Linked DNA regions of Homo sapiens: regions 2 and 3 are each linked to region 1. Evidence: promoter capture Hi-C in human tissues and cell types (Jung and others, 2019). All regions are on one chromosome and are shown on one strand. The core of a region is centred on a gene start or on the middle of the fragment in contact, and the rest is flanking DNA. Distances in the headings are between cores, read along the strand shown. Region 1 holds the start of MYBPC3 (myosin binding protein C3). Region 2 has its middle 7.6 kb from the start of F2. Region 3 overlaps AMBRA1 (autophagy and beclin 1 regulator 1).

Region 1 (2,700 bases), core at 36-2,535:
CACTCCTGCCCGCTCTGTCTCGGCCTCGAACACGGCAGGGCTGCCTGCGGCCACTTCCACTGACCGTGGCTTCTTGCTAAAAGCTGAGACTGAAGGGCCAGGTGGAGGCTACAGCGGCCCCTGGTTGGAGCGTGCACCCCGCCCCTGCAGCCCCTCTCAGTAAATACTGTGCTAGCACTTTCTATGCATCCCCTCACGTAATACTCTACCAGTTCTCTGAGGTAGTTGCAGTTATTCTGTTCATTTCTCAGAGGAGGACACTGAGGCTCAGAGAAGCTAAGCGGCTCCTCCAAGATCACACAGCTAGCAGTCGGGAGAGCCAGGGCTGTGGTCCTGACCTCCCAACAAGACTTTTTCTGCATGTGTCCACTTTCCCTGCTTGGAGACACCCGTGATGAACCCAGCTCCCTTTCCCCCAACCATTTCGGGCCCTTGGCAGGGGGCGGGGAAGTCTGCCTACTTGGAATGTGGCCAAATTTGTCCTCCAAGGACCTCAGGCTGGGTATCAGCAACTGAGATAAAGCTGGCCTGGGAGGGCGCTGGGGGATGGGGACCTGGATCTCTGCCCTGGACAACCTTCATAAGGGCACAGCCCAGGCCCAGGTCCCTGGGCTGTGATTTTCCCTGCCCTTGGCCTGGGTTCAGGGGCTCCTGACTGTCCTCTCTCAGAGAAGAGGGGCTGTGTCACCCTCAACATGGGGGCCACACCGTACAGGCTCATGAAGCAGATAATGTCACAGCCAGGAGGAACCAACCCAATGCCACCACCACCCCCGGCACCCCAGGTTGGGAGACTGAGACCCATAGTGGGTAGAGACTGGTCTGAAGGCATGCCGTGAGCCTGGCTCAGCTCCATACTAAACGTGGGCTCTGTCCGCGGGGAACCTTGCTGTGGAAGGTGAAGGCAATGGGACAGGGAAGGGGTCCCTTTGCATTCTCAGAATGGGTTGACCCCGGGTGCTTCCTGTCTTGGCTGTGTCCCCTCTCTGCGTCCCTGACCTTGGGTTTACCTTCACCTCTCATCAGAGGGATGGGAAAAAGAAACCGAGAATCAAAAAAGGACCCTGGAGGACTGGCTGCCCCTGTCCTGGGGCTCAGAGGCCACGTCCTCGTCAACCCCCTCAAGAACTCCCTCCTAGCCCTGCTCCCCAATTGTAGACACCCCCCTGCTCCCACACTTAGACCCAACCCCAGTCCTAAAGCTACCTGGCTTCTTCCCCGGCTCAGGCATCCTGAGAGACGTCACACCAGGCACGAAGCAGGCACAGGTCACCCAAAGAGGGACTGAGTGGGGTCCTGTCCTTCCCACTATATATGGGGACCTCCCCCCTCCCCAGGCTCTGCTTATCTGCCTCCTGTCCAGCCACCTGCTAAATATAGATGAATTCCAGAGAGCTGAGGTCTCTCCAGGGAGAAGGTAGGGCCACATTGTCCCTGGCTGGCTCCTGTCCCTTCCCCCCTCACCCCCCGCAGCACAATTCTGCCTCCCCAACCTTTGGCAAGCCTCAGGGGTACTCCAAGCCCCGTGTGTGTCCCTCTTACAGCAAATTGTACGGTGGGAGCATGCTGGGCCCATAACCCTAAGGCTAACGGGTCAGGAGCATCCTCGCAGGCAGTTCAGGCAGTGGTCATGTCCACAGACCCTGGGGCCAGGGTGTCTCTGAGTCCTAGCACTGCCATCTCTTTAATCTCAAAGCACCTGGTTTCCTCATCTGTAAAGCGGGGTGGGTGAAAGCAGCACCCACTGCACAGGATTGTCACACGTATGAAGTGGGTTTATAATTTTAAAAATGTTAGGCCGGGTGTGGTGGCTCATCTGTAATCCCAGCACTTTGGGAGGCCGAGGCAGGCAGATTATTTGAGGCCAGGAGTTTGAGACCAGCCTGGGCAACATGGCAAAACCCCATCTCTACTAAAAAAATAAAAAATAAAATAAATACACACACACACACAAATTAGCCAGGTGTGGTGGTGTGGACCTGTAGTATCAGCTACCCAGGAGGCTGAGGTGGGAGGATCGCTTGAGTCCAAGGAGTTCCGGGCTGCAGTGAGCCAAAATCGCACCACTGCACTGCAGCCTGGGTGACAGAGTGATAATAATAATAAAAATATTATTTATTATTATTTTTTATTATTAATATCTCAAAGAATAATAATAAAAAAATAAAAATGGGCTGGGCGAAGTGGCTCACACCTGTAATCCCAGCACTTTGGGAGGCTGAGGCGGGCAGATCACTTGAGCTCAGGAGTTCGAGACCAGCCTGGGCAACATGATGAAACCCCATCTGTACAAAAAATACAAAAATCAGTCAGGCATGTGACGCACACCTGTAGTCCCAGATGCTCGGGAGGCTGAGGCAGGAGAATCACTTGAGCCCGGGGGGTCAGGGCTGCAGTGAGCCATGTTCGTGCCACTGCACTCCAGCCTGGGCAACAAAGTAAGACCCTGTCTCAAAAAAAAAAAAATAAAAATAGAAGAATGAAGACACAACACCATTTTGCCTTCTCTTGTGGCCCTGCAGTAGGACTAGGGAGCTGCAGGGTTGGGCTGCAGTGAGCCCTCTGGGGTTGAGGAGGTGTGGGGCGGGTATTTGTCCCTACGATAATGGCCCCAGAATCTGGGTTCCCTAAGGTCTTTGACAGCGTTGGGAAGTCCCTCACTCCCAGGCTGTCTACTGCCACTACTTGCTACCGTCTGGA
Region 2 (2,700 bases), core at 87-2,586, 640 kb before region 1:
TTCAAGACCAGCCTGACCAACATAGAGAAACCCTGTCTCTACTCAAAATACAAAAATTAGCCGGGCGTGGTGGCGCATGCCTGAAATCCCAGCTACTTGGAAGGCTGAGGCAGGAGAATCGCTTGAACCCGGGGGGCAGAGGTTGCGGCGAGGCAAGATCACGCCACTGCACTCCAGCCTGCGCCAAAAGAGCAAAATTCTGTCTCAAAAAAAAAAAAAAAGAAACTGAGGCTCAGAGAGGATGACAAGATCACACCATCAGTAAGAGGCAAAGCCAGGATTCTTCTTTTTTTTTTGAGACAGAATCTCACTCTGTCACCCAGCCTGAACTGCAGTGTTGCGGTCTCTGCTAACTCTACTCCGCTAACTTTACCTCCTCTTCCCGGGTTCAAGCGATTCTCCTGCTTCAGCCTCCCAAGTAGCTGGGATTAAAGGTGTGTGCCAACATGCCCGGCTAATTTTTGTAGTTTTAGTAGAGATGGAGTTTTGCCATATTGGCCAGGCTGGTCTCAAACCCCTGACCTCAAGTGATCCACCTGCCTCAGCCTCCCAAAGTGCTGGGATTACAGGCGTGAGCCACCGTGCCCGGCCAAAAGCCAGGATTCTAATGTGGGTGGTTTTCTGGCTTCCCAGCACTTGACCACGATGTCACCGGCAGCCCCGTGCCTCCTGGTTTGCCACTGACATTAACCCAGTTGCCTGCCCAATCTGAAAAACTTGGCAAAGCATAAACCTAAAATTGTCCAAGGGGCGGGAGGACAGCAGGAAATCGTGGTGATCTGTGAAGAGAAAGGCCACACTGTCCAAAGCCTGAGAAACAGCTGCTAAGATTAGTTTTGAGTCAGCCTACCCTGTGACTTGGAACCTGCTCAATTTCTTTTCCAGCTCCTGACTCAGGCAGGCCCACTTCAACTCAGGGGACTGCTCAGCAGTGTCTGCCTAGCGTTTTAGGCATCCTGGGGACACGCTCCTTGCTTGACATTGAACTGTGCAGGACGTGGGGATGCTCTGGGCTGTCCGGGAGGCCTGTTGACACCCCACAGCATCCCCAGGCCAACAGCTGAGATGCCCACACTCCCTTTCCACATTCCCCACACAGATTGGAGAATTTTTCCTCCATTAAAGCCGTCCCTGGTACATGGTACATGGAGCAGGGTCGGAGCAGGGTCAGGACAGAGCCAACGGATTGGAAGGCAGGTGATTTGGGAGTCTCTGCTCTGGCAACACGCATGGCTCAAGTGAGAATGGGTGTTACACAGCATCTCCCAAGATCCTCATGTTACAGTTACCCATGAGAAAACAGAGGCCACAACACAAGTCACTTGCCAGGGTCAGAAGACCAGTCAGTAGCAGAACCAGGACAGAATTCCGGCCTTCTGATTCCTAATTTAGTGCTCTTCCAGCTCAAATAAAAGGCAGACCATTCTTGGAAAGACTAATCACTGGAATATTTTTTTTCACTGAGAAAATATTTTCAGAATTTCAAGGCTACAGTGAGCTGTGATTTTACCACTGCATTCTAGCCTGGGCAGCACAACAAGACCCTGTCTGAAAAATATATATATATATATATATATATTTTATTTTTTTTTTCCTCTGATTTCAATATAATTTTCATTTTATTTATTTTTTGAGATGGATTTTTTGTTTGAGATGGAGTCTTGCTCTATCGCCCAGGCTAAAGTGCAGTGGCACTGCCTCAGTTCACTGCGACCTCTGCCTCCTGGGTTCAAGCAATTCTCCTGCCTCAGCCTCCTGAGTAGCTGAGATTACAGGTACCTGCCACCACGCCCGGCTAATTTTTGTATTTTTAGTAGAGACGAGGTTTTACCATGTTGACCAGCCTGGTCTCGAACTCCTGACCTCAGGTGATCCACCCACCTTGGCCTCCCAAAGTGCTGGGATTACAGGGGTGAGCCACCATGCCCAGACTGTTTTTTGTGTTCTTAGTAGACACAGGGTTTCACCATGGTTGGCCAGGCTGGTTTTGAACTTCTGTCCTCAAGTGATCCACTCACCTCAGCCTCCCAAAGTGTTAGGATTACAGGCATGAGCCACCATGCCTAGTCTATTTATTTATTTATTATTATTTTTGAGACCGCCTCACTCTGTCACCCAGGATGGAGTGCAGTGGCGTGATCTTGGCTCACTGCAACCTCTGCCTCCCGGGTTCAAGGGATTCTTGTGCCTCAGCCTCCCAAGTAGGTGTGACTACAGGCATGCACCACCATGCCCAGCTAATTTTTTGTATTTTAGTAGAGACGGGGTTTCACCATGTTGCCCAGGATGGTCTTGAACTCCTGAGCTCAGGTGATCTGCCCACCTTGGCCTCCCAAATTGCTGGGATTATAGGCGTGAGCCACTGCGCCTGACCACATATAATTTTTATTAATTATAATGTTGAAAGTCCCTTTATTCCACACCTCTCCTCTCATTCACTCCTGATAGGTCATTTTTAATGATTTGATGTATATACTGAATTTGGATGCTTCTTGCTACAGGGCAAAGACGCTAATAAGATTTTGCTGGAGCCTTTTCACAGATGCAAGTCAATCCAGGCAGTGTCTATAGCTGCTGAACCCAAAATCAGAAAGCGAGGGCTATCAAAGCTCTTCTGTCCTGATTTGCAACTTTAGTAGTGCAAGAAAAAAAATCTTAGAATAAAAAATGGGTACCGTTCAGAGACCTTTAGAGATTGCA
Region 3 (2,700 bases), core at 124-2,623, 780 kb before region 1:
TGGGAGGCCAAAGCAGGGGATCACCTGAGGTCAGGAGTTCAAGACCAGCCTGGCCAACATGGTGAAATCCTGTCGCTACTAAAAATATAAAAAAATAGCTGGGCATGGTGGTGCATGCCTGTAATCCCAGCTACTTGGGAGGCTGAGGCAGAAGAATCGCTTGAACCTGGGAGCCAGAGGTTGCAGTGAGCAGAGATCGCACCATTGAACTCCAGCCTGGGCAACACAGTGAGACCATGTCTCAAAAAAAAAAAAAAAAAAAAAAAAAAAGCAAGGTCTTCTGCAGCTACTCTAGGAGCCCATCCCCACTCTAAGTCTCCTCCATGGAACTATCCTGTGGGCCCAGAGGGAGAAGTACGAAATTATATCTTTTCAGCAGAAAATGACAAGTGGAGATAATTCTCCCATGTATAAGCTTCTCCAAAATTACATTCCTTCTTCAGGTAGAAATGTGAAGTATATTGCTGATCATTTTAAAAACATTCATTTGTAATACGAGGTATGACCACTATTAAGTGCCAATGCCTTATATACCCCATCTCTAAAGTCTCCTCCCACTCCACTCCCATTTTACAGACAAAACCCTAGCTCAACGTGATGTTACTTGCCCCCCCATTGAACAGTAATTTGATTGCTGTTAATATTTTTTTTTAAGCCAGTAAGAGATAAACTGTAGGTTAATGATACAACACTGGGTTTTTTCCCTTTATCAGGTTTTTCTATATTAACACATGACAACAGAAAAAATTCAAGACAGTTAACAAGCATGTAGGCACAAGTCATTTTCTAAATACATCTGCTGATCTTGGTTCAACTATTTTTGTCCATTTAGCATACTTTTGGAAGACTACACGATGCAGCAAGCCCTACTCCAAGAAAGGGATAGAGAACTGGAAAAAAAATAAATGAACAAAAAAGGCCTCTAACCTCTGAGAGCTTGTGGGGAGACTACAACTGCAATATACTGTAACCATAACCACTGTACTGAAATGTGGCAAGTGTTACCCTCAAGGAAGTACAAAGTGGCATGGTTTGAAAACTCCAGCTATCTTCCCAAAAGCAACAGATAATCTCTCACATTTGCCTCCTTACAATGGTTCTGGCTTCAATTCCGCTGATATTCTATAAATGACAAATACCAATTCTTATGCCTGGGCAAAAGGTCCCCAGTGTTCTTCTATACAAATCACTCAGTAAGTATGACAGAAGTTTGCCAGCTCAAGTCAGCACAAAGCTCCTTCTCCAAAAATAACCCTGTAATTTTTAGAAATTCTAGCAATGAAAATAAAGTATCTTTAACTTTTTTGTCAAATCATGGATATACAGAGTTAAAAGTGACTTAGGGATCATTTTGAACATAAAATCTTGAAAAGTAGCCATATTACAGTGGTTCACTTCTGTAATCCCAGTGGTTTGGGAGGCAAAGCAGAAGGAGTGTTTGAGCCCTAAAGTCCGAGACCAGCCTGGGCAATCTGGCAAAACCCCATCTCTACAAAAAATACAAAAATTAGCCAGCCATGGTGGCACATACCTGTAGTCCCAGCTACTCAGGAGGCTGAGGCAGGAAGACCACTTTAGCCTGGAAGGTCAAGGCTGCAGTAAGCCATGGTTTGTGTCACTGCACTCTAGCCTAGGTGACAGAATGAGTCCGTGTCTCAATCAATCAATCTTTTTTTTTTTTTTTTTTTGAGACAAAGTGTCCCTCTGTCGCCCCAGGCTGGAGTGCAGTGGCGTGATCTCAGCTCAATGCAACCTCCACCTCCCAGGTTCAAGAGATTCTCCTGCCTCAGCCTCCTGAGTAGCTGGGACTACAGGAGCGCACCACCACGCCCAGCTAATTTTTGTGTTTTTAGTAGAGACAGGGTTTCACCATGTTGGTCAGGCTGGTCTTGAACTCCTGACCTCGTGATCCGCCTGCCTCAGCCTCCCAAAGTGCTGAGATTACAGGCTTAAGCCACTGCGCCCTGCCCAATCAATCAATATCTTAAAAAGTTAGATTCACAGCCAGGCGTGGTAGCTCACGCCTATAATCCCAGGACTTTGCGAGGCCGAGGTGGGTGGATCACAAGGTCAAGAGATCGAGACCATCCTGGCCAACATGATGAAATGCCGTCTCTACCGAAAATACAAAAATTTGCTGGGCGTGGTGGCGCCAGCCTGTAATCCCAGCTACTCGGGAGGCTAAGGCAGGAGAATCGCTTAAACCCGGGAGGCGGAGGTTGCAGGGAGCAGAGATCGTGCAACTGCACTCCAGCCTGGTGATAGAGCGAGATTCCATCTCAAAAAAAAAAAGTTAGATTCACTTGTCCATTGTTATAAGACTCACTAAGGGCATCTCTAGACATAAACCCAGGGCTCTTAACTCACTGTATAGGGTTTCTTTGCACTGCTGCTGCTTTAAATCCAGTAACAATAAATTTAATGAAGTCCAAGTTTTCTCATTTAATCAATCATAGATACATCCATGAGTAAATAATCATAGCAGTTTAAAAACGAACTTCATCAAAAACGAGCACACTAAGCACCCACCATGAGGTGCATACAGTAGGTAAAGAACTGCCTATCTTTGATATGGCAGAAGCTCTTAGGCATTGGAGGGAACTGTCAATACCCACTGAAAAATTGTCAGCATTATCATCATCATCTTGACAATCAGCTAGTATTTTGGGGTGTTTACTCTGAACCAGGCACTTTACATGT

Evidence for each region. The method cuts DNA at HindIII sites, captures the fragments that hold promoters and counts their contacts. A contact is called where the count stands out against the background at its distance.
Region 2: a contact is called between a fragment that was not itself captured here and the fragment with the promoter of MYBPC3 in region 1, in 1 of the 25 tissues and cell types used here (aorta).
Region 3: a contact is called between a fragment that was not itself captured here and the fragment with the promoter of MYBPC3 in region 1, in 1 of the 25 tissues and cell types used here (pancreas).

What each region holds. Positions count from the first base shown.
Region 1 is chr11:47,351,417-47,354,116 of GRCh38, forward strand. It overlaps MYBPC3 (myosin binding protein C3), which reads right to left and starts at 1,286. Exons shown (of 35, transcript NM_000256.3): 1 at 1,207-1,286; 2 at 1-89. The coding sequence starts at 1,231. RefSeq lists an enhancer at 1-910. The HindIII fragment of the contact is 22,693 bases long and covers 1-2,700 here.
Region 2 is chr11:46,710,240-46,712,939 of GRCh38, forward strand. No RefSeq gene overlaps it. Among named protein-coding and RNA genes, the nearest start is that of F2, 7.6 kb to the right of the region's middle. The HindIII fragment of the contact is 6,245 bases long and covers 1-2,700 here.
Region 3 is chr11:46,570,019-46,572,718 of GRCh38, forward strand. The region is part of intron 1 of AMBRA1 (autophagy and beclin 1 regulator 1); the gene reads right to left. Among named protein-coding and RNA genes, the nearest start is that of AMBRA1, 23 kb to the right of the region's middle. RefSeq lists an enhancer at 880-1,009. The HindIII fragment of the contact is 5,695 bases long and covers 1-2,700 here.